5 separate regions of the Homo sapiens genome follow, and regions 2, 3, 4 and 5 are each linked to region 1. Evidence: promoter capture Hi-C in human tissues and cell types (Jung and others, 2019). All regions are on one chromosome and are shown on one strand. The core of a region is centred on a gene start or on the middle of the fragment in contact, and the rest is flanking DNA. Distances in the headings are between cores, read along the strand shown.

Region 1 (5,012 bases), core at 1,652-4,151:
AGTAATATGTTGTGTTTCACTGTGTCTCCTCCATGGTGTCTGTTTCATGGCTCCAGATCCTGGGGGCTTCTGATCAATCCTTCTGCTAAGTGATGGACGAATAGATGAATGGATGGGTGGTTGAAAGGGTGGATGAAATGATGCATAGATGGATGAATGCTCAGGAGGGCAGAAAGAAGTAAACACAGAGTCAAAATAAGAATGAGGAGATGATTGAAGGATGAAGAGTTGATGCATGAGATAGAGACATGGTCTCCAACCCTCCTATCCCCACACAGCCTCACCAACACCTGCCTTGGGGTAGCAGTGGCACATGCTTCAGATGATGTCCCCAGTCACCATGACATAGCTGCGGAAGGTGCCATAGACCTGAGGCTAATCATGGCTCATGAGAAACGTGCTAAGAGCCAGCAGAAAAAACCCAGCAGCACAATAAAGTCGACGTTGAAACTCTTCTCATCTGCAATGGCTGCCTGGCCAGGCCATAGACTATGCACTCCTGGCAGAGGGGGTGCATGTCATCCAGCATAAACACCCAGACAGGCTCACAGGGAGGGACGAAGCTCTGCGATTGCTGCCAATTGAGGCTTAAAGTTAAAGGGAGAACAAGACCCCCTCAGGTCCAGACCCAGTGCCTGGGCCCACAAGTTCAGATGGCAAGAGGCAGCACACTTCAGTGAACAATTGCACCCACCCACCCACTCACCTTCTCTCCTCACCATCCTGCCTTCTCTGCAGGCTAAGCAGTCCTGCAGGGCATGTATGAATCTGAATGAGAGAGTATGCAGGAAAGAGAGAAGGGAAGATTACCAGGACTGGGCCCCAGCCAAGGATTTGACATCACCTTATTTGCCTACTATAGGGATGAACTAGGTGGTCAAGTGGCCGTATTATTTCACTGTATTAATACAAATACACCTTCCAGCCCTGGGAAGCAGCATACAATTGCCAAGAGACGTTAGAATGCTGCTGGAGGATTCCAGGGTCTCACAGTCTGGATTTTAGAGTCCTGAATTTTAGACTTTTCAAGGACATGTGCTCCTCTGGGGTTCAGGCATAATAGACTATATTTACCGATGGTGACTGTGTGCATGACGCCATAACATGTTACACTATTAACTCACTTAAGGGACTCCATGAGGCAGGTACTGCTATCTTCACTTTACAGAGGACACTGAGCACAGGCAAGTAACTTCCCCATGGTCACACAGCTGGAAATAGCAGAGCAGCTGGGATGTGCACCCAGAGTCTGTGTACTTAGCCACAGTGCAATCCTGCATAACTACAAAACAAACTTATGTGTGTGAGCATCTATCCGCCCAAGCAGACAAGTGTCAAACTACGCGAATGCTGTCCAAGCACTGCGTGAGCATACACTTCTCTGAAAGCGTTCTGCTCATCAACAGGGCCAGCCAGTGACTTTTCTGATCGCTTAATGCACCTATCCAGTCTCTTCACAGGCGGCTCCTGGGGTCTGCCGGGGGTGCTGGCGTCGGGTTGGCCCTGGCGCTGTCCCCAGCCCCCACTCCCCAGGCCCTGCAGCGCCATGAGGTCGGACTCCTGGGCGTGTCCTGGGTTCTGACCCACCCGCGACGCCAGCTGCCCGCGCCCGGAGCGGATGGGCCTGGCCCGGCTCCACCCCGCGGGGCTCCGCGGCTCAACGGGTCGCCCAGGGGCGCGGGCCCGGCTTCGTCCTCGACGGTGTCCGCCCCGGCCCTGGCTAGGCCGACGGCAGCCGGGTCCGGGTGGGGCTCGGGCTCGGGGCGCGCCCCTCCCATCTCTCCAGGGTCCGCGTCCTCGCTGCCGCCAGGTCCCGCCGAGATCCCCGGTGGCCCCGGCTCCAGCGGCTGCAGCGTCGCCATCGCCGGGCAGACCCCGGCCGACCTCAAAGCGACCGCGCGGTGGGGCCGGCGGGGACTGGGGCTGCGCAGCGCGGCCTGGGGTGGGGGCGGCGGGGCCCCCAGGAGCTCCTGGGAACCGAGGGTCCTGGGGCGGTCCCGCCCCGCACAGCTCCGGGTGAGCTTGGGGAGGGAGACACACTCTCAGCCCACCTCGCCCCGCCCGACAGCGCTCCGAGTCCTGAGTCCCCTCACCCCCATTCTACAGACACGAAGGTGAAGCCAAAGACGGGACGCTCACTTCCTGAGAATTTGCTGCCTGCTGCGTGGACACCACCGACCTATTGTTTACAGCGGTCAGGGACCCGCCCCCCAGACCCCCAGGACCGCGCTTCCGGGGGAGGAGGGTGTCCTCAGCAACGGTGACCCGCACCAAAGCCCTCCTCACCGGGGTCACCGCCACAGCCGGTGCGAGGCCCGCAGGGCGCTGGGGATGCGCGACCGACTCCCGTGAACCTGCTCCTCGCGCGTCAGGGAGAGCTGTGCACCCAACTAGGCTCTGTGAGGACGGACTGAGGTCGGCCTGCAGGCTGCGGCCCCGAAGGCAGGATTTGTGGAGAGATGATTCGCGAGCCTTGGAGGAAGGATGGGCTGTGCGTGCGTGGGTGCGTGCGTGTGTGTGTGTGTGTGTCTGTGACTTTTGTATGTTTATGTGAGACTGCGTACGTGCGCGCGTCTGTGTGTGCGCGCGCGCGTATATGTCTGTGTGTGTGCGTGCGTGTATAATTTCTAAATGGACGTCACCTTACACATCACAAGGTTAAAAAATGACCCCTGGGCTGTGCCAGGCCAAGCACGAAGAGAAAGCCCCGCCTGAAACTGCCTGGAGGCCCCCCGGCTGTCACTCTCGCCACATTCCGTGGAGTATGTGGTTGCAACTTCTGTCACTCAAGGTCTGATGGCGGGGAGATTGGAGCCGTATCCAATCAGCGCACTGGAGTGAAAACTGCCCAATCAGGCACGCAGCCAGAGAGGAGGCGGTGGCTTCCGGGATGTGGCGCGGGTCTTTGCGTCTGGCTACTACCAGACCGCGGGTTAGGGGCTTCATCTCTCTGCGTTCTCAGTTGTGGGAGGCCTTGGTGATTCGGCCACAGCTCAGCCTCCGTCGCTCTGTGACCTGCGGGTATTGGATGATTGGTAGCTAAGACTCCCGAATACTTCAGAAGTGGGGAAATGGTGAGTGTGCGGGGCAGGGCGTCCCAAGGCTGAGGAGGTCTCATCGGAGCTGGCGGGAAATGGCGGCGGGACCGAGTCTGCGAACGGAGTCCCCGCTGCCGCCGCTCAGCCCTGGGGCCTCAGTACCCTCCGGTGAGGGACCTGGGCTCCTGTCGGTCCCCGCACAGCGGCTCTGGCCCAGCCTGCAGCCCTCCTTGTGCAGCTCTGCGCCCGCAGCCCCGCACCTTCCCCAGGCTGTGGGGTGAGGAGTAGCTTATCTGGAAGCCGCCCGCGCGGCGTGCGCGATGCCGGCGTGGGAGGAGCTGTGGGAGAAGCTGTGGTCTGGGGATCCCGTCCCTGCTTTACCCTGTTCGGAATGAGATCGAGGCCCCATCAAAACAGAGTTCATGTGAGCAAATGGGGACTCATTAATGGGACAGCGCCGGCCGTGGCTCGTGGTTTGGGGGCTGCCAGCGGGTCTTGAAGGAAAAGCTTTTGTGAGGTGTGTGAGGAAGCGAAGCAAATCACCCGCCCGCTCCAACTTGCCCACCAGTCTCCTTGCCCTGTGCGCCTCCTCCGCGTGGCTGTTCCTGAGTGGCATCTTTTAGAATACGCTAGTGTGGGCGCGCACAGCGCTTCGCTGAGTTCTGTGAGTAGTTCTGTCATATTATTGAACTTGAGGAGGGTGTGGGCCCCTGGTTTGTAGACAGGTGTTCAGAAATGAAGACGGGTGTCCAGAGGCAGGGACTGGCGTCTGCAGGGGGGCAGCTGCGGGAAGAGCGCTGAGCTTGTGGGGTCTGTGCTGACTCCGGGTGGTGTCGTTAGTGAGTTGTTGGACAGCCCGTTGGGGTCGGAGCATTGACTGGTGTTGAGCAAACTCCTCACGTTTCCTGTCAGAAGAAAGACATGGCTGAGCCTGGGCTGGAGGGAGTCGCAGGTGTCCGCGGGAGACCAGCCGGGTTCTGCACATGCACTGTCCTGCTGCGCACTGTTCTGTTCCTCCAGGTCTCCTCCCGGGGAGAGAGGGCGCTGAGAACTTGGAGGAAAGGAGTTCTGAGAAACATCCCTTCCCTGCACCCTGCTGCCAGCCCCCACCCAATGCTAACCCACTCCTGAGCCCGCCCATTGGGCATTCGCACGGCCACACTTGTCCCAGGACAGGGTTCTACCCTCAGGAATTGTGCCCATGGCAGCTTTGCTCCTAGGTTTTTCTCCCAAGAACACACACAGTGCCCAGAAGACTCCTGGTTCATTTTAACCCCAGATCTGTAGCAGGAATCTGTTTTCTTCACCCACCCAGGCTTTTGGACCACCTGATCCTAATCTCCTCTGCCTTTATGGGCTCAGGAATCAGTTAGAGCTTAGCCCTGCCTGGGCCTGAACTTGTAGCACAAACCAGTCCTTTCGTCAATCCTGCCTTGCCCCCACTCAAGGCTCTTGATAGCACCTTTCTTCTGCTCTTTTCTTCCCCACAAATCCTCTTTCCTGTGCACACAGTTTGCTCAAGTGCATCCCTCATGTGCTACAAGAATTCAACGTTAGTGAGTTCAAGACCATGCCTTTAGACCTGCCTGTTGTAGGACCAAATACAAATCAGAAGAGGCTTAATGCTTTCTCTTTAGAATGAGGAAAGAATTTTTACTCTTCTCCCTTAAAGCATTTAGTTTGAAAACTTTTATATTTAAATATTTTCTCTGCTTCTTTGAAATATATATAACTCATTTTAATCTGTTAACTAGGTGATTTGTCTTTTTTGACTCAAAATTGTCTTTAGGACATGGAAACTATTGCTTTGAAATGTGCATAGCAAGAATATATAACCTATTCCGCAATTTCTGTAGCAGAGTAGGAGGCTGCCTTCAGCAGGTACCTGCCTTCACATATCAAATCTACCTCCTGTCCTGAAGCTGTGGGAAGTTTATTTTCCCTTTGAATATTACCAATTAGGAAACCCGGATG
Region 2 (5,084 bases), core at 1,951-4,450, 100 kb after region 1:
TCTGCATCCATTTTTATTGACTACAGAACTTTACTTCCTGTGTGAAATGCAGGCTTATCTCTGCCTCTCTGGAAACTTGACGAGGACATGCACTCTGGCTTCCTTCACCCCTAAAATTTGCATTGTCCTGGGTGATGATTCTTTGCTGTTACCCTTTACTACCTCAAACCAGATCAACTGTGCAGTTTATCTTTTTTATTTTTTTCCTCAATGAGCTTGGCATCACAAGTGCCACTACAGGAATAGCTGGCATAATTATTGCCTTCTCAACTTACCACAACCTGTCTCTAGAACTGACTCAAAAAACAGAAACCACTGCTCAGACTCTTACAGAGTGACAGCAACAAGTTGATTATCTCGTGGCTGTAGTTCAAAATTGTAGAGGTCTTGCCACACTAGCTGCAGCTCACAAAAGCATTTGCCTTATGCTAGGAGAAAAATGCTGTTTCTGGGTTAACAGATTAGGGAAAGTCCAGGACCATGTTAGAGATTTTATAAACCAAGCCTGTCACCATCAGAAACATGCCACTAAGGGCTAGTTCTCCTGGGGTGCCAACTGGTTCAAATTCTCATCACATCCCTTTTTGGGGGATCCCTAGCTTTTGTCTTCCTTTTTCTCTTTTGTGAGCTTTACTCACTAAATCAAGTAACCAGGTTTGTTTCCTCTCACCTGGAAACTCTCAGACTTCAAATGGTCCTGCAACAGGAGTATCAACCTATTTTCTTCCCTTCTGTACAACTGTGTTTCTCCACATTTCCTCTGGATACTGCAAGTCAAACCTGGGAAAACATGGAGGGAATGTTTTTCTGACAAAGAGCAAGATAATGAGATGCTGATGAGTTATCTTATGTCACCAGGAAGTAGTTACAGAAGACCCACAGTGCACTGTCTCAAAGATTTTTAGAGTCACAATCTATTGAGGGAATGTTCGAGTAGGCAGTTAGACATGAACAGAAAAAAAGAGCCCCAGAGGAAAAAGCCTCATGCTCCAAAGACAACCCAAAACATGTATGCTAAATTTGAGCAGAGAGGAGCAGAAATACCTATGAAGAACACCCTGAAACACCACTTAGGACACCCAGTAATTGCTCATACTGTGATTAAACTGTCAGAATGTAGCTAGCTACATGCTGATAAAAAGGGAAAAAGGGCTAAAGGAAAATTCCTAAGAGATACGTAGGCATAGTAAGTACACATTTGACTGCTATATTATTTTCCTAAGATGGCGGTAATAAGCAGTGCTGCCATTAAGATTCATTGATCACTGGAACTCACACATGTATATCAGCTGACAGTAAGGAAGCATCTCACAGACCTGGGCAGAAACTCGATGAGGATAAAAGAAGAGATTTACCAGGAAGCAGGATACTAAACAAAGGCAGACACTTAAGACAGAGGTGGGAAATTTTTTTTAAGTCTATGATAATAAAAACTGCAACATGTAACTCTCAAGACTGTTTCCAGCTGGGCCAACCTACTCCTCTTTTGGTGTGTTCTTTGTGTCTGGGCTGAATTGTTTCTCTCAAGAAAACAAGAACTAAGGACTTTGCACTTCCTGGTAACATTTTCACTCTCCCCCACCTCTTGACAAACACCATTGTACTTTGTTTTTATGAGCTGACTACTAAAAATATCTCACATAAATGAAATTATAATTTTTTTTTTTGAGACGGAGTCTCGCTGTGTTGCCCAGGCTGGAGTGCAGCAGCGTGATCTTGGCTCACTGCAAGCTCCACCTCCTGGGTTCACGCCATTCTCCTGCCTCAGCCTCCCAAGTAGCTGGGACTACAGGTGCTGTCACCACGCCTGGCTAATTTTTTGTATTTTTAGTAGAGACGGCGTTTCACCATGTTAGCCAGGACGGTCTCGAGTTCGAGACCTTTGCCTCCCAAAGTGCTGAGATTACAGGCGTGAGCCACCGCGCCCAGCCCAATGTTTGTTAATTTTTTATTAAGGATGGGTGTTGAGGCCGGGCACGGTGGCTCATGCCTATAATCCCAGCACTTTGGGAGGTCGAGGTGGGCGGATCATGAGGTCAGGAGATCGAGACCATCCTGGCTAACACAGTGAAACCGCATCTCTACTAAAAACACAAAAAAATTAGCCGGGCGCAGTGGCGGGCACCTGTAGTCCCAGCTACTCGGGAGGCTGAGACAGGAGAATGGCGTGAACTCGCGAGGTGGAGCTTGCAGTGAGCTGAGATCACGCCACTGCACTCCGGCCTGGACGACAGAGCGAGACTCCGTCTCAAAAAAAAAAATGGGTGTTGAAGATAATCATGTATTTTCTGTTTGAAGAGGTTGTTTACCGTAGTAGTTAAGACTTATCTCTAGAGTCAAACTTGCCTGTGTTTTACTACTGGCTCTTCTGTTGTGAGCAAGTCATTTTTCTCTGTGGCTCTGTTCCTTCCTCTGTAAAATAAGGATAATAATAATGTCTATGCATTGAGTTTCTGTGAAAATTAACAGATATACAGGATTATGGTTAGTATTTGGTATATATTATTATGTATATGCTGAATTACATTAATTAATGAACGTTTGAATTCAATAGCTGCCATAATCTGATTTTCCAGAGAAGGTGACGAAGGACTTGGATAAAGTGACTAAAAATGAAAACCGTACCTCATGAACTGCATCCACTAAAACAAAAAAATCATAACAAATTTCCTCAAGATTGTAACATGAATCTCAACAGAAAAGATCACTGCAGATTTTGAATCTTGAATCTACACAGATCATTCTATTTTTCCAACACTTAACATTTACACTCAAAAGATTCAGCTTAAAAAAATAGTTTTGCTATGTCATAGAAAATGATATGTAAAATCCTTCACCTACCATTAAGTCTCTTAAAAATTTCAAGAGGGCCGGGTGTGGTGGCTCCCGCCTGTAATCCCAGCACTTTGGGAGGCAGAGGCAGGCGGATCATGAGGTCAGGAGATCGAGACCATCCTGGCTAACATGGTGAAACCCCATCTCTACTAAAAATACAAAAAATTAGCCAGGCGTGGGAGTGGGCGCCTGTAGTCCCAGCTACTCGGGAGGCTTAGGCAAGGGAATGACGTGAACCCAGGAGGCAGAGGTTGCAGTGAGCTGAGATCGTGCCACTGCAGGTTAGCCTTGGCAACAGAGAAAGATTCTGTCTAAAAAAAAAAAAAAATTTTTTTTCTAAGATATATTTTATCTTAAGAGATATCAAAATTCTGATGAGTTTCTTCATATGGTGCTTACAATATGCAACCCACTTATATTAATGTTTTACCTATTCTAACTTATGTTTAACACACTTTTTGTTAGAATCTCATACAATTTTTCCTTTACCAATACAGAGAAGCAATGCTGACTTAATCCTCTTACCTGTGAACAGTGAATTACTCTCAAGTCATCTGAATGTTGTATTGATAAATTATAAATAATCTCAAACAACCCAGTTAAAAACAATAATATACCACATTAAAAATTCTAAACTTCTCATCTGAACCTTGAAAGTCCATGTGAAATTACACGGCATGAAGAGATCAGCGAGGAAACTGTAGCCAAAACACAAAGGAAAAGAAGACATCACAAAACTAAAGATAATTAGAAAATAAAAACAGAAATCCTCTTTAAATTCAGACTGAGTCAGTTTTGCAGCCTGGGAACACGTCCTCTCCACATGCACAATTAATGACATTTCTTCAACATAGATATTTTTAATCTTTTACTTGGAGCTACGAACTAACTCCAGGAATATTTATGGCTAGTTATGGAGCATCTATTACACACCCAGCACTTTGTGTTTGTTCACTACAATTATTTATCAAAACATCCCCAATACTTATGTCTTCCCAGTACTTGCCTGAACAAACTTATTTAGTTATAAAAAGTGAAAAGAACAATAACTAAAGAAAACAGCTTATATAAGGTTGTCCAATAAAATGAAATGTTCTAATTAAATAAAACATAAATACACACATTGTGAAATTACATCTAAAAAGTATTTTTGGTGCACTAAATTTTATAAAAATGATTCTTATAATTTCTGACAAGCTCACATACTTTATGAAGTGGAAACAAAAAAAATGAGAAATTTATAGCTAGAGCATGAGGACCACATAAAACCAGAATTGATTGGCATGGGGAGATTCTCAACGATGATTCATTAGATTGTACAGTAATTAAATGAAAAGAAGAAAATATAGATTTGATTTCAAAATGTTTTAGATTTCTAGTAAATTACCTATCCACAGTATTAATAGAACCTTCTTTGTTCCAATATTGCTATTTTCTTTGGAAAATAGGTATAAACTCTCATGCAAACACAATTACTTGCTCCATAATTTCCTTGTGCCCAACGTTTATCTTTAGAGCACAAAATTTATATATTTAACTCCAAGTAAATTAAATGTCTGTATGTGTTTGCAGGAGGACATGCCACATGTTCAAAGATATATATGAAACATTTTTTAAAAGTATTCAAGACTCAGGAATGTATGAATGTTTATTACAAACATAAAATGACCTGTAGTTAAAAATAATTAAAGTGTGTAACTGGATTGTGTGTAATACAAAGGATAAATGCTTGAGGTGATAATAACTCATTTACTGTGGTGTGATTATTACATACTGTATGCCTGTATCAAAATAACCCATATATACCATAAATATATACACATACTATGTACTCACAAAACCTTTTGAAAAATTTCAATAAGAATAAAAATGTAACATGCAAACAATATTCTTCAATTTATTTGCTGTTGAAAGCCACTAAAAAAGACTAGAGATGTCATTCAATTATATTACCAGATAGTACATTGTTACCATCTTTAACGTACACCCTTGAGTAAGGTTGGATAGGTGAAAGTTGGTGGCATAATAAAACACTTCATTCACGGCACAAAAATTTTAACACAATAACAATTTTTATTTCAAAAATTAAGTTCACACATTATCTTAAGAGAATTTTAAAATTTACTGCATTTTATTGCACTTATTACATAAATATACAGTTGGCAAAACAATTTACTACTAAAATTCAGATTCTCTCTCAGTATAACGCAAAGTATTACTCTGAACACCTACTTCAGGCATCACTCAGT
Region 3 (5,018 bases), core at 135-2,634, 65 kb after region 1:
TATAAGTAGATGCGGAGAAGTGTGGCAGACAGCTTGTTGGTGTGAAATGTCTGAGGAGTTCTCACCAAATCTGTCTAGAAAGTAAAGAAGTTCCCCAGGTGCGTAAATATGAGTGCTATCGAAGGAGGTTCGGAGGTGCAGGGAGACGGGAGAGGTAGCCCAATCGGCCTGTAGAGCGGGGTGGCTGTGTAAGAGCAGGAAGAAAGGGAAACACATAGCCAACAATTCTTTGCTAGAGAAGGATTGGAGGCAGTGAGGAGAGAGTGGGTGAAATTGACAGTATGCTGGAGGCAATTTGGGAGAGGTAAAGAGTGGCATAAGAATGGGAATGACAATAAGAGTGAGTATAAAAGTAAAGAATAGAACTTCATCAGGGTGGAAGTATTGGAGGGTGCCCTGTCAGCAAAGATCATCTATCCAGTCCAAGAGGGAGTCAAGAGTGGTGGTTTGGGGATAACACCAGGAGTTATCAGCTGTGAAGTCTTGGCAAAACAATGTAAACTGGCAGTGTAAACAAGAGCAGGTCATTTATGAGTAGTTGAGAATGGTGAATAGGAGTATGACTAGACAGAAGATAGCAGGGATGACAAGTTTTTGGGGTGTAGTCCAAGTAGTGGGGATGACTGCATAAAGCCCTGTTGCAAAGAGTAGGGTAAGGATGGATACACCTAACAGAATGAAGGGATGTATTAGGCTCATAAGGGTTATTATTATTCTTCAGAAATGCGAGTGAGTTTAAGGGAAGTAGGGGAGAGTACTTGTGACTTCCAGGAGGAAGAGGAGATATCAGGCTGGCTGGCTGATGGACACAGCTTTATTCTGGAATGGTGAACCCAATGGGGAGGGTCCTGCAGGTGGACGGCAGTTGGGGTACTATAGATGACTAAGTAGGGTCCAGTCCATTGAGGTGGTAGAGTTTGAGGGGTCAGAATCTTAACAAGAACTGATCGTCCAGCTAGGGTGTCTTTATATCGCTGGGAATCTGGAGTGGGCAAGAGAAGATTAGCAGCCTGGCGAATTTCATGTCTAGCCTGCTGGAGGACTGGAAGATAGTTGTCTAGAGGGCTGGTGTCTGGGACAAGGTTTGGGCCAAGTAAGAATGTGCGTCCATATAAAAATTCAAATGGACTGTGCCCGGTAGCATCTCGAGGACAGTTTCTAATTCTGAGAAGGGCAAGAGGTAAAAGTACTGTCCACTCCTTTTTAAGTTGGAGGCTGAGTTTGGTAAGGTGTGTATTTAAAAGACCATTAGTCCATTTTACCTTTCCTGAAGATTGAGGACGGTAAGGGGTATGAAGTTTCCACTGAATACCAAGAGTCTGAGAAACTGCTTTGGTGATTTGACTAATAAAGGCCTGTTATTGGACTGTATAGAGGTGGGAAGGCCAAACTGAGGAACTGTCTGACAAAAGGGAAGAAATGACCATGGTGGCCTTCTCAGACCCTGTGGGAAAGGCCTCTACCCATCCAGTGAAAGTATCTCCCCAGACCAAGAGGTATTTTAGTTTCCTGACTCGAGGCATGTGAGTAAAGTCAATTTGCCAGTCCTGGGCGGGGGTAAATCCCTGAGCTTGATGTGTAGGGAAGGGAGGGGGCCTGAACAATCCCTGAGGGGTAGTAGAATAGCAGATGGAACACTGAGAACTGATTTCCTTGAGGATAGAGTTCCATGATGGAAAGGAAATGAGAAGTTCCAAGAGGCGGGCTAGCAGCTTGTAACCTACGTGGAAGAGGTTATGAAATGATGATGTGTCCGGAATTGGTGGGTTCTTGGTCTCACTGACTTCAAGAATGAAGCCGCGGACGCTTGCGGTGAGTGTTATAGTTCTTAAAGGCAGCATGTCCGAGTTTGTTCGTTCTGATATTCGGTTGTGTTTGGAGTTTCTTCCTTCTGGTGGGTTCATGGTCTCGGTGGCTTCAGGAGTGAAGCTGCAGACCTTCGCGGTGAGTGTTACAGCTTATAAAGGCAGTGTGGACCCAAAGAGTGAGAAGCAGCAAGATTTATTGCAAAGAGGGAAAGAACAAAACTTCCACAGTGTGGAAGGGGACCCGAGCAGGTTGCCACTGCTGGCTCGGGCAGCCTGCTTTTATTCTCTTATCTGGCCCCACCCACATCCTGCTGATGGTCCATTTTACGGAGAGCTGATTGGTCTGTTTTACAGAGAGTTGATTGGTCCATTTTGACAGAGTGCTGATTGGTGCGTTTACAATCCCTGAGCTAAACACAAAAGTTTTCCATGTCCCCACTAGATTAGCTAGATACAGAAGGTCGATTGATGTATTTACAAACCCTGAGGTAGACACAGAGTGCTGATTGGTGCATTTACAAACCTTGAGCTAGATACAGAGTGCCGATTGGTGTATTTACAATCCCTTAGCTAGACATAAATGTTCTCCAAGTCCCCACCAGACTCAGGAGCCCAGCTGGCTTCACCCAGTGGATCCCGCGCCGGGGCTGCAGGTGGAGCTGCCTGCCAGTCCCACGCCGTGTGTCCGCACTCTTCAGCCCTTGGGTGGTCAATGGGACTGGGCGCTGTGGAGCAGGGGGCGGCACTGATTGGGGAGGCTCGGGCCACGTAGGAGCCCATCGCTGGGGGGGTGGAGGCTCAGGCATGGTGGGCCGCAGGTCCTGAGCCCTGCCCCGCGGGGAGGAAGCTAAGGCCCAGCGAGAAGTCGAGCACAGCAGCTACTGGCCCAGGTGCTAAGCCCCTCACTGCCTGGGGCTGGCGGGGCCAGCCGGCTGCTCTAAGTGCAGGGCCCGCTGAGCCCACGTCCACCCAGAACTCACACTGGCCCGCAAGCCCTGTGCGCAGCCACAGTTCCCGCCCACGCCTCTCCCTCCACACCTCCCAGCAAGCTGAGGGAGTCGGCTCCGGCCTTGGCCAGCCCAGAAAGGGGCTCCCACGGTGTAGCGGCAGGCCGAAGGGCTTCTCAAGTACAGCCAGAGTGGGTGCCAAGGCTGGGGAGGCACCGAGAGCAAGCGAGGGCTGCGAGGGCTGCCAGCACGCTGTCACCTCTCAATGATAGAATAGAATGGGCCTTTGAGGCTGGAAGGAGACATTTTCCTTGGTCCAAGAACCATTTGACTTGTGTGGGAAGAGATTAGATTGATAGGCGGAAGTTTCAGTGGGAGTATAGGTGGGAGTGACCGATGAGGAGAAAAACTGGCCATAAGGGACAGAAGTTGGAATGCTAGCTGCTTCTTTAGCTACCTTATCAGCATAAGCATTGCCCTGAGTGATGTGATCTGATGCCTTTTGATGGCCCTTGCAGTGAATGACTCCAGCTTCCTTTGGAAGGAAAGTGTCTTTGAGAAGAGTTTTTATTAAAGAGGCATTAATGATGTAGGACCCTTGCATAGCGAGGAAACCTCTTTCACCCCATATAACAGCATGTTGGTGCAGGATATGGAAGGCATATTTAGAGTCAGTATAAATATTGACATGTAATTCCTTGGCAAGAGTGAGGGCTCAAGTTAAGGCAAAGAGTTCAGTTTGCTGAGAGATAGTGGAGGGGGCAGAGTGGTAGCCTCAATGATAGATGTGGAAGATACTATAGCATAGCCTGCCTTTGCTGTTGAGTGGCAATTAGGCCTGGTGGAACTGCCATCAATAAACCAAGTGTGATCAGGGTGAGGAACAGGAAAGAAGGAAATATGGGGAAATGGAGTGAATGTGAGGTGGATCAGAGAGATACAGTCATGGGGGTCAGGTGTGGTATCTGGAATAATGTGGGAGGCCGGATTGAAGTCTCGGCCAGGAACAATGGTATTTGTGGGAGACTCAACAAAGACTGAGTATAGCTGAAGGAGCTGGGGGGCAGAAAGTATATGTGTCAAGCGTGAGGAGGAAAATAGATTTTGAAAGTTATGGGAACTGTAGAGAGTAAGTGGAGCATAGCTTGTGATTTTGAGGGCCTCTAAAAGTATTAAAGCAGCGGCAGCCACTGCACACAGACATGAGGGCTATGCTAAAAAAGTAAGGTCAAGTTGTTTGGATAGAAACGCTACAGGGCGCGGTCCCGGCTCTCGTGTAAGAATTCTGACCACACATCCCTGCAGTTTGGCTGTGTGTAATGAAAAATGTTGGGATGAGTTAGGCAGAGCTATGTGGGAGCAGCTTTTAGGGCTGTTTTTTAAGGAATGGAAAGAGGAGTGGGGAAAGGATTTAGGATTTGTGGGGTCAGCTAGGTTTATCTAGAACAGAATAATGGGTTGTGGAGGGAGGTACTGAGGATAGGAGAGCATATGGGTTTGGCACCACGGGGTGGATAGGCAAGACAATTTGATTGATAAGGCGCAGATCCTGAACTAACCTGTAAGACTTGTCTGGTTTTTGGACAGGTAAAATGGGAGAATTGTAAGGAGAGTTTATAGGCTTTAAAAGGCCATGCTGTAACAGGCGAGTGATAACAGACTTTAATCCTTTTAAAGTGTGCTGTGGGATGGGACATTGGTGTTGAGCGGGGTAAGGGTGATTAGGTTTTTTTTTTGAGACAGAGTCTCGCTCTGTAGCCCAGGCTGGAGTGCAGTGGCGCGATCTCTGCTCACTACAAGTTCTGCCTCCCGGGTTCACGCCATTTTCCTGCCTCAGCCTCTTGAGTAGCTGGGACTACAGGTACCCGCCACCACGCCCGGCTAATTTTTTGTGTTTTTAGTAGAGATGGGGTTTCATTGTGTTAGCCAGGATGATCTCGATCTCCTGACCTCGTGATCCACCCGTCTCAGCCTCCCAAAGTGCTGGGATTACAGGCGTGAGCCACCATGCCCAGCCGGGTGATTAGGTTTTAATGGGATAGCAACAGGTGTGCGATCAGTTGCCATGGAGGGAGTGGAGGTGTCCCATACTTGTGGGTTAAGGTTGGGGCTTTACGAGAGGAAGACGCGAAGGAGGCTTTGGGTTGGGAAGAAGGGTGGCAATGAGATGTGGCTGTAGTCCAGGAATAATCAGGGAAGCAGATAATTTGGTTAAAATGTCTCAGCCTAATAAGGGAACTGGGCAGGTGGGGATAACTAAAAA
Region 4 (5,203 bases), core at 518-3,017, 120 kb after region 1:
CAGGCACAGTGGCTTATGCCTGTAATCCCAACACTTTGAGAGGCCAATGTGGGCGGATCATGAGGTCAAGAGATCGAGACCATTCTGGCTAACATGGTGAAACCCTGTCTCTACTAAAAATACAAAAATTAGCTGGGCGTGGTAGCACACGCCTGTAGTACCAGCTACTTGGGAGCCTGAGGCAGAAGAATCACTTGAATCCGGGAGGCGGAGGTTGCAGTGAGCCGAGACTGTGCCACTGCACTCCTGCCTAGCAACAAAGCGAGACTCCATAATTAATAAATTAATAAATTAATAAATAAATGATGGAGGAGAACCTACATGAAAACACTCCCCAGTAAAATAGAGTTGAAAGAATAAAAAATTCTGATCTATAAAACACTGAATATAATATAGATGTATCATAAAAACAATCCTTTAACTACAGTTTTCAACTCTGACTATGTACTTAATGAAGATCTGGCATTTTGAATCCTTACATGCAAAGAAAATGCATCTCAATTAAAAAATGCTCTAATAAGAATGAAGCATTTCAATACAATTATTTATTACACAATGAGTAAATGTGAGCATTTTATTTCAGAAATTTTGAATTTGAAATCAGATAAATTTGACATAGAATGTATCAGAAACTGAAAACACAGTAAGATGGCAGGAGGTTCTCTACCCACAACTTCTACAGTTATAAAAAAGCAGCAGTTATGTCCTGAAAAAAGGAACTTTATGGGAGCTTTGGAATCCATGTCAAGGGTTGTGAACCCAAGACTGAGGAGGGCTGTATTGAAAAGACATGCCCTTGCTTGAGTGGCATGCTTGCCCATCACAGTCCCAGCTACAGAATAAAATGTGTCCAATTTTCATTGTAGACTTAGCTGTAGACCATTTGGTTTTGTTCCTGCTACTAGCACCATCTGTGAAGACACCTAAACCAAGACACCTATGCCTCAGGTGAAAGGCCTTTAGAAGTTGGTTCTATCTGTGATCTCTGAATTAGCCCAAAATCCACCCTTTGCACATATCAGTCATGGTGTGGAAGAAATCCTGCCCAGACACCCACAGAGAGAAACATCCATCTGTGCCCCTGGATGTAGACTTGCCAATATTTATTTATGGTGGATCTTGACGTGGCACTATAACCTGATTCCAAGTCCATGCAACCAAAGTCCGGAAGAATTTTTTCCTAACCTGGGACCTGCCAAAAGACACACCTGTATGTGCCCCTGTAGGCATGCTGACTTTATTCCCACTGTGAATCGTGAAGCAGTCCTATAACCAAGCTCTGGTCTCTGTCACCTAGAGTCTGAAAGAAGTCCTGCCAACCCAGAAATCTGGAGGGAGAAATGCCATGAACCCAAAAACAGACCTGAAGACTTTGGTCTCAGCTGTGTATCCTGAAGCAGCCCTATGAATCAGTTCCACACCCTCTTAGCTGTGATCAAGGGTCAGTACTGCTCATTTAGGAACCTGTCCAATGACTAGGTTAGAGCATTTCCAAATACCTCGCAAGAGCGACACAGCGGGAGCCACACCTGCTCACATTGATTTGTATCAGCACCTTAATCTGCAGATATAACTGGAAGCTTTTTTCCTCAGTGCCAGTCATATTGATCAACATCTTGAAGAAAGTTCAGTCTTCTCAGAAAATAGATAGAATCCACAACTGTCTGATGCCCAGATAACAGGTCTCCCAAGCATGAATTTCACTGCAGACCCAGTAGGACTTATGTGACCTGGATCTGAAACACTTTATTACAATCTCAGTGGAAATCTCATCAGCCCAGAATCCAACAGAAGATATTTACCTCCCCAAACTAGTCTATAATGACTGAAAGAGGTATTTACTCCTTCAGATGCAAGGACATCAAAACAAGGCTTCATGACTTATGAAGGATCAGGCAAACATAACACCACTAAAGGAAACTAAAAATGCTCCAGGAACCACTAACAATAACACACAGATCTAAGCCAGGCGTGGTAGCTCACGCCTGTAATCCCAGCACTTTGGAGGCCAAGGCGGGCATATCACCCAAGGTCAGGAGTTCGAGACCAGCCTGGCCAACATGGCAAGACCCCATCTCTACTAAAAATACAAAAATTAGCAGGGCGTGGTGGCATGTACCTGTAGTCCCAGCCACCCAGGAGGCTAAGGCAGGAAAATCGCTGGAACCCAGGGGGCAGAGGCTGCAGTGAGCTGAGATTGCGCCACTGCACTCCAGCCTGGGTGACAGAGCAAGACTCCGTCTAAAGAAAAAAAAAACAGATCTAAAAAATGCCTAACAGAAAATGTTCAGGGCAGCCAGAGAGAAAGGTCAGGTTACCCACAAAGGGAAGCCCATCAGACTAACAGCAGATCTCTCTGCAGAAACCCTACAAGCCAGAAGAAAGTGGGGGCCAATATTCAACATTCTTAAAGAAAATAATTTTCAACCCAGAATTTCATATCCAGCCAAACCAAGCTTCATAAGCGAAGGAAAAATAAAATCCTTTACAAACAAGCAAATGCTGAGAGATTGTCACCACCAGGCCTGCCTTAGAAGAGCTCTTGAAGGATGGACATATGAAAAAGAAAAACCGGTACCACCCTCTGCAAAAACATACCAAACTGTAAAGACCATCAACACTATGAAGAAACTGCACCAACTAATGGGCAAAATAACCAGCTAGCATCATAATGACAGTATCAAATTTACATGTAACAATATTAATCTTAAATGTAAAACGGCTAAATGCCCCAATTAAAAGACACAGACTGGAAAATTAGAGTCAAGACCCATCAGTGTGCTATATTGAGGAGACCCATCTCATGTGCAAAGACAAACACAGGCTCAAAATAAAGGGAGGGAGGAATATTTACCAAGCAAATGGAAAGCAAAAAAAAAAGCAGCAGTTGCAATCCTAGTCTCTGATAAAACAGACTTTAAACCAACAAAGATAAAAAACAGAAGGGGTCAGGTGCAGTGGCTCACACCTGTAACTCCCAGCACTTTGAGAGGCCGAGGTGGACAGATCACGAGGTCAGGAGATCAAGACCATCCGTGGTTAACATGGTGAAACCCCGTCTCTACTAAAAATACAAAAAATTAGCCGGGCGTGGTGGCGGGCGCCTGTAGTCCCAGCTACTCAGGAGGCTGAGGCAGGAGAATGGCGTGAACCCAGGAGGCAGAGCTTCCAGTGAGCTGAGATTGTGCCACTACACTCCAGCCTGGGCAAGAGAGCAAGACTCCGTCTCAAAAAAAAAAGGTGGGGGAGGGGGCATTACCTAATGGTAAAGGGATGAATGCAACAAGAAGAGATAACTATCCTAAATATATATGCACCCAATACAGGAGCACCCAGATTCATAAAGCAAGTTTTTAGAGACCCACAAAGAGACTTAGACTCTCACACAATAATAATGGGAGACTTTAACACCCCACTGTCAATATTAGATCAATGAGACAGAAAATTAACAAGGATATTCAGGACTTGAACTCACCTCTGGACCAAGCAGACGTAATAGACATCGACAGAACTCTCCACCCCAAATCAATAGAACATACATTATTCTCGGCACCACATCGCACTTAATCTAAAGTTGACCACATAACTGGAAGTAAAACACACTTCAGCAAATGCAGAAGAAAGAAAATTATAACAGTCTCTCAGACAACAGTGCAATCAAATTAGGACTCAGGATTAAGAAACTCAAAACTGCACAACTACATGGAAACTGAACAACTTGCTCCTGAATGACTACTGGGTAAATAACGAAATTAAGGTAGAAATAAATAAGTTCTTTGAAACCAATGAGAACAAAGACACAACCTACTAGAATCTCTGGTACACAGCCAAAGCAGTCTTTGGAGGGAAATCTATACCACTAAATGCCCACAAAAGAAAGCAGAAAAGACCTAAAATTGACACCTTATCATCACAATTAAAAGAACTAGAGAAGCAGGTGCAAACAAATTCAAAAGCTAGCAGAAGACAAGAAATAACTAAGATCAGAGCAGAACTGGAGGAAATAGAGACACGAAAGACCCTTTCAAAAAAAAAAAAAAAAATCAACAAATCCAGGAGGAGGTTTTTTGAAAAGATCAACAAAATAGATAGACCACTAGCAACACTACCAAAGAAGAAAAGAGAGAAGAATCAAATAGACACAATGAAAAATGATAAAGGGGATATCAACACTGATCCCACAGCAACAAACTACCATCAGAGAATACGATAAACAACTCTACGCAAATAAACTAGAAAATCCAGAAGAAATGGATAAATTCCTGGACACATACACCCTCCCAAGACTTAACCAGGAAGAAGTTGAACCCCTGAATAGACCAGTAACAAGTTCTGAAATTGAGGCAGTAATTAATAGCCTACCAACCAAAAAAAGCCAGGACCAGATGGATTCACAGCCAAATTCTACTAACGGTACAAAGGGGAGCGAGCTGGTACCATGCCTTCTGAAACTATTCCAAATAATAGAAAAAGAGGGACTCCTCCCTAACTCATTTTATGAGGCCAGCATCATCCTGATAACAAAGCCTGGCAGAGACACAACAAAAGAAAAAATTTCAGGCCAATATCCCCGATGAACATCGATGTGAAAATCCTCAATAAAATACTGGCAAACCAAATGAATCCAGCAGCGCATCAAAAAGCTTATCCGCCATGATCAACTCAGCTTCATCCCTAGCATGAAACACTAGTTCAACATACGCCAATCAATAAATGTAATCAATTACATAAACAGAACCGATGACAAAAACCACATGATTATCTCAATAGATGCAGAAAGGGCCTTCAATAAAATTCAACACCCCTTCATGCTAAAAACTCTCAATCAACTAGGTACTGATGGAATGTATCTCAAAATAATAAGAGCTATTTATGACAAACACAGCCAATATTATACTGAATGGGCAAAAGCTGGAAGCATTCCCTTTGAAAACTGGGACAAGACAAGGATGCCCTCTCTCACCACTCCTACTCAAAATAGTATTGGAAAGCCGGGTGTGGTGGCTCATGCCTGTAATCCCAGCACTTTGGGAGGCTGAGGTGGGTGGATCACTTGAGGTCAGGAGTTCAAGACCAGCCTGACCAATATGGTGAAACCCTGTCTCTACCAAAAATACAAAACTTAGCCAGGCGTGGTGGCACATGCCTGTAATCCCAGCTACTCGGGAGGCTGAGGCAGGAGAATTGCATGAACCCAGGAGAT
Region 5 (4,824 bases), core at 2,064-4,563, 84 kb after region 1:
GTCTCCTCCAAGGGTCAAAGGAGACTGAGGACTGCTTCTAGAGTTTTCCACTAACAGGCCACGTAAGTGTCCCGAAGATTCATGGCTTCTTTCTACCTCCCAGATCTTGAATCTGCACCAGTAACCTCTTTCCTGCAGTAGCCTAGATTTCTGGATCACCTGACCATCTTATCTCCCTGCACGCACACATTTATAAGTCAGAGCTGTCCTGCCTGGGCCAGTATCTGTAGCACTAACCAGTTCTTTCACCAATTGTGCACCAAAGCTCACCCATGGATTCTTGATAGCACCTTTTCTATTCTGCATTTTTCCCCCACAAACCCTCTTTCCTGTGAAGACAGTATGCCCAAGGTCTCCCTGCAGGTGCCTAAATCCAGGCCATGCTGGAAATCAGATGTCCATGAGTTCGAAGCAGAGTTTTTGGATGTGGTTATTGTAAATATAAGTGCAAAACAGAAATGAGAGACTTAGTCCTCCAACTGGAAAATAAAGGAAGAGTATTTTCTCTCCTCCCTTTTCTAAAAACCTTTCATTAGAATTTTTTTTTTTTTTGAGATGGAGTCTCACTCTGTCACCCAGGCTGGAGTGCAATGACGCAGTCTCAGCTCACTGCAACCTCTCAGCCTCCTGGGTTCAAGCGATTATCCTGCCTCAGCCTCCCAAGTAGCTAGGACTACAGGCCCATGTCACCACACCCGGCTAATTTTTTTGTATTTTTATTAGAGACGGGGTTTCACTGTGTTGGCCAGGCTTGTCTCAACTCCTGACCTCGTGATCCCCCCGCCTCGGCCTCCCAAAGTGCTGGGATTACAGGCATAAGCCACTGCACCCAGCCTTAATTTAGAAAATTTTTATATGTAAATTCTTTCTCTGCCTTTTTTCTTTTTTGTTGTATTTTAAGTATCTAATTCATTTCTATTAGAGGTCTAATTTTTATTTTATTATACTAACATTGGGATTAGTTATTTTTCAAGTGCTTTGAGGATTAAAGTTTCATTGTTTGAGATCTTTTTTCTTAGTATAAAAATATATTGCTATAAAATTCTTAGAACATCTTTTGTTACATTTCAGTTTTGATATGTCCTGTTTCTATTTTCAGTTTTCTCAAGATAGTTTGTGATTTTTTTTCGTCTTTGACCCATTGGTTTTTCAGAAGCGTGTTGTTTAATATACACATATTTGTAAGTTTTTTACTTTTCCTTATATTGATTTCTAGTTTTATAAAATTGTGATTTAAAACTTTGATATGATTTCAGTCTTTTTAAAAATGAAAAGACTTGTTTGTTTTTGTTGTGGGCCAGATTTATGATGTGTCCTGGAGAATGTTCCATGTATGTTTGAAAAGAATATAAATTATACTGTTGGATGAAATGTTCTACATATGTCTGTTAGGTACAGTTTTATAGTGTTAAGCAAGTACATTGTTTTTTCACTAGCTTTCTGTCTGAATGATGTATTAAGTAGGGCAGTATATTCCCCTATTATATCTGTTTCTCCACTTTTCTTAATATGTGTTAATATATTTATGGGCTCCAGTGTTTGGTACATATATATATTTAATTATTTTTTGACAAATTAGACTCATCATTATATAATAAAGTTCTTTTTTTATGACAAATTTTTTTTCTATAAGTCTATGTAGTCTGATATAAATATAGCCACTTCTACACTGTTTTAGTTATTATTGGCATGGAATATTCTTTTTCATCCTTGTACCATTAAGCTATGTATGTCCTTAAATCTAAAATAAGTCTTTTGTGCACAGCATATTGTTGATTTTTTAAATCTATTCAGACATTCTGTGAATGTTTTCATTTATTTTTTGCTTCAATAACAGAATATCCCAGAGTTGGTAATTTATAAAGAATAGAAGTTTACTTAGCTCAGAATCCTGGATGCCAAGAAGTCCAAGAGCATATCATTCCCATCTGATGAGAATCATACTTCCACATCACAACATGACCAAAGGCTTGAGGATGATGGAAGGTGTACACCAGAGCTCACTTTTATAATAGACCCACTCTCATGATGACTAACCCACTGTGGAAATGATGATACTAATCCTTTCATGAGAGTAGAACTCTCATGATCTAATAACTTATTAAGGGCCTCATTTCTTAATTTTCTCACAATGGTAGTTAAATTTTAACGTGAATTTTGGAGGGGATGCTCACACTATAGCAATGTTTTTATTGAATAACTAAATATATATTTAAAGGAATTACTGATTGATAAGAACTTATTACTTCTATTTGCTTTTCTTTTCTTTTCTATTTTTTTTGACAGAATCTCACTTAGTCGCCCAGGCTGGAGTGCAGTGGCACGATCTTGGCTCATTGCAACCTCTGCCTCCTGAGTTCATGCAATTCGCCTGCGTCAGCCTCCCAAGTAGCTGGGACTACAGGCACCCGCCACCACGCCCAGATAATTTTTGGTATTTTTAGTAGATACGGGGTTTCACCGTGTTAGCCACGATGGTTTTGATCTCCTGACCTCGTGATCTGCCCACCTCAGCCTCCCAAGGTGCTGGGATTACAGGCGTGAGCCACCACACCCAGCCCTATTACTGCTGTTTTCTGTTTTCTGACCATTTCGTTTCTGTTAATTCTTTCATGCTGTCTTCCCTGGTGTTTTCTTGAATTTTTGTTTTGTTTTTGTTGTTTTATGCCTTCTTTTTTTGTATTTACCCACTACAATTTTTTTTTGTAATTTCCAAGAAACTTATGTAAAACATCTCATAGTTATAAAATCAAGCTTCAGATAGCAATTTAACTGTTTGTTTTGTACAGATAGGGTCTTGCGTTGTTACCCAGGCCAGACAGGGTCTTGCTTTGTTACCCAGGTTGTAGTGCAGTGGTGCATTCATAGCTCAGTACAGACTCAACTTCCCCAGGCTCAAGCAATCCTCCTATCTCAGCCTCCCAAGTAGCTGGGACTACAAGTACATGCTGCCATGTCTGGCTAATTTTTTTACTATTTTTTATGGAGACAGGGTTTTGCCATGTTGCTCAGGCTGGTCTTGAACTCCTGGGCCCAAGCAATCCACCTGTCTTGGCCTCCCAAAATGCTAGGATTACAGGCATGAGCCATCAGGCCCAGCTGCTTTTTTTAAAAGAATAAATAGCTTTCTGAGATCTTTAATTTTAATTATGTACTTATTGAAGAGACAGGGTCCTGCTATATCGACCAGACTGGTTTTGAACTCCTGGCCTCAAGCAAAAGTTAGCTTCTATGTATAGAAAAATTAAACAATCTTACTCCCTTCAACATAGTATTTATGTCACACCCTACTTTTTTTTTTTTTTGAGATGGAGTCTTGCTCTGTCACCCAGGCTGGAGTGCAGTGGCGAAATCTCGGCTCACTGCTAGCTCTGCTCCCAGGTTCATGGCATTCTCCTGCCTCAGCCTTCCTACTAGCTGGGACTACAGGCGCCTGCCACTGTAACCAGCTAATTTTTTGTATTTTTAGTAGAGACGGGGGTCACTGTGTTAGCCAGGATGGTCTCGATCTCCTGACCTCATGATCCACCCACCTCGGCCTCCCAAAGTGCTCAGATTACAGGCGTGAGCCACTGCGCCCAGCCTCACACGCTACATCTTTTTATATCGTATACCCATTAACAATTTATTGAAGCTATTTTTAGTAATTTTTTCTTATAGTTTTTATACCATAGTTAAAAGTGATTTTTGACCATAATTACAGGTTTATAGCCTTCTAAATTTGACTATGTATATATGACTTTCAGTAATATTTACTTTATTGTTGTAAGTTAGGATTCCATTACAACTCGAAAAATTCTCATTAGCATTTTTTGTAAGTCAGGTCTAGTGATGAAAAATTTCCTCAACTTTTTTTAAATCTGAGATTTTGATTGATACATCATTTCTAAAGAACAGCTTTGTCAGGTGTATTCTTAGTTGTCAAGGTTTTTTCTTTTTCTCTCTTCATTTGCACTTTAAATATACGGTTTCACTTCCATGTGGCTTGCATGGTTTTTGCTGGGCAATCTGCTGATAACCTTATAGAAGTTCCCTTGTATGTGAAGAATCTCTTTTCTCTTCCTTCTTTTAAGGATCTCTCCTTGTCTTTGAATTTTGGCATAATTACAACGTGTTATGGACAATTTTTGTTAGATTCTTCTTGCTACAGACATTTTGAGCTTTTCAATTTAATGTCTATATTTCTTCCAAGATTGGTAGAAATTTAAGACATTATATCTTTAAACAATTTTTAAAATTTTCTCTCTCATGAACCCCCTAAAATACGTACATTCTTACTGTTTACTATGCAGTATGGGACCCAAATGCTTTATTCACTCTTACATTCTTTTTTAAAATTCTAATCAGAAACTTTCAAATGACTTACTTTTACATCTGCTGTTTTTTTTTTTCCTGTGTAACGAGGTCTCCTGTTAAAGCTTTCTCTTAAATATTTTAGATCTCCTATTGTGTACTTCAGCTCCAGCATATCTATTTGGTTCTCTTTTAATGGGTTCTCTTTATTATAATTGTGATTTTGTTCATACGTTGTTGCAAAAGAATTTAGTAATGTGTGGTCTTTTTGCATCCATTGAGATTCTTTAAGAAAATTATTTTGAATTCTTGGCCATTTTTTAGATCTGTGTCTTACTGTAAGTGGTTACTGGAGCATTTTTAGTTTCCTTTGGTGATGTTATGTTTGCCTGATCCTTCATGATCTGTGATACCTTCTTTTTATGTCCTTGCATCTGAAGGAGTAAATACGTCTTTCAGTCATTATAGATTAGTTTGTGGAGGTAAATATTTTCTCCTATTGGATCTCTGTGCTGATGAGATTGCAGTAAG

Evidence for each region. Contacts are between HindIII fragments. The study calls those that stand out against the background at their distance.
Region 2: a fragment that was not itself captured here is called in contact with the fragment with the promoter of ZNF141 in region 1 in 3 of the 25 tissues and cell types used here (dorsolateral prefrontal cortex, lymphoblastoid cells and spleen).
Region 3: a contact is called between a fragment that was not itself captured here and the fragment with the promoter of ZNF141 in region 1, in 2 of the 25 tissues and cell types used here (dorsolateral prefrontal cortex and spleen).
Region 4: a fragment that was not itself captured here is called in contact with the fragment with the promoter of ZNF141 in region 1 in 3 of the 25 tissues and cell types used here (dorsolateral prefrontal cortex, lymphoblastoid cells and mesenchymal stem cells).
Region 5: a contact is called between a fragment that was not itself captured here and the fragment with the promoter of ZNF141 in region 1, in 8 of the 25 tissues and cell types used here (adrenal gland, aorta, dorsolateral prefrontal cortex and 5 more).

The regions. Positions count from the first base shown.
Region 1 is chr4:334,913-339,924 of GRCh38, forward strand. It overlaps ZNF141 (zinc finger protein 141), which reads left to right and starts at 2,902. Exons shown (of 4, transcript NM_003441.4): 1 at 2,902-3,074. The coding sequence starts at 3,072. RefSeq lists silencers at 1,612-1,671, 1,902-2,011 and enhancers at 2,026-2,541, 2,647-3,607, 2,652-2,751. The HindIII fragment of the contact is 20,671 bases long and covers 1-4,814 here.
Region 2 is chr4:435,100-440,183 of GRCh38, forward strand. It overlaps ZNF721 (zinc finger protein 721), which reads right to left. Exons shown (of 3, transcript NM_133474.4): 3 at 4,889-5,084. It also overlaps the pseudogene ABCA11P and the pseudogene LOC100533734. Among named protein-coding and RNA genes, the nearest start is that of ZNF721, 62 kb to the right of the region's middle. The HindIII fragment of the contact is 8,490 bases long and covers 1-5,084 here.
Region 3 is chr4:401,504-406,521 of GRCh38, forward strand. No RefSeq gene overlaps it. Among named protein-coding and RNA genes, the nearest start is that of MIR571, 54 kb to the left of the region's middle. The HindIII fragment of the contact is 8,017 bases long and covers 1-5,018 here.
Region 4 is chr4:456,602-461,804 of GRCh38, forward strand. All of the region lies in intron 2 of ZNF721 (zinc finger protein 721), which reads right to left. It also overlaps the pseudogene ABCA11P. Among named protein-coding and RNA genes, the nearest start is that of ZNF721, 40 kb to the right of the region's middle. The HindIII fragment of the contact is 3,564 bases long and covers 1-3,549 here.
Region 5 is chr4:418,771-423,594 of GRCh38, forward strand. No RefSeq gene overlaps it. Among named protein-coding and RNA genes, the nearest start is that of MIR571, 71 kb to the left of the region's middle. The HindIII fragment of the contact is 5,047 bases long and covers 791-4,824 here.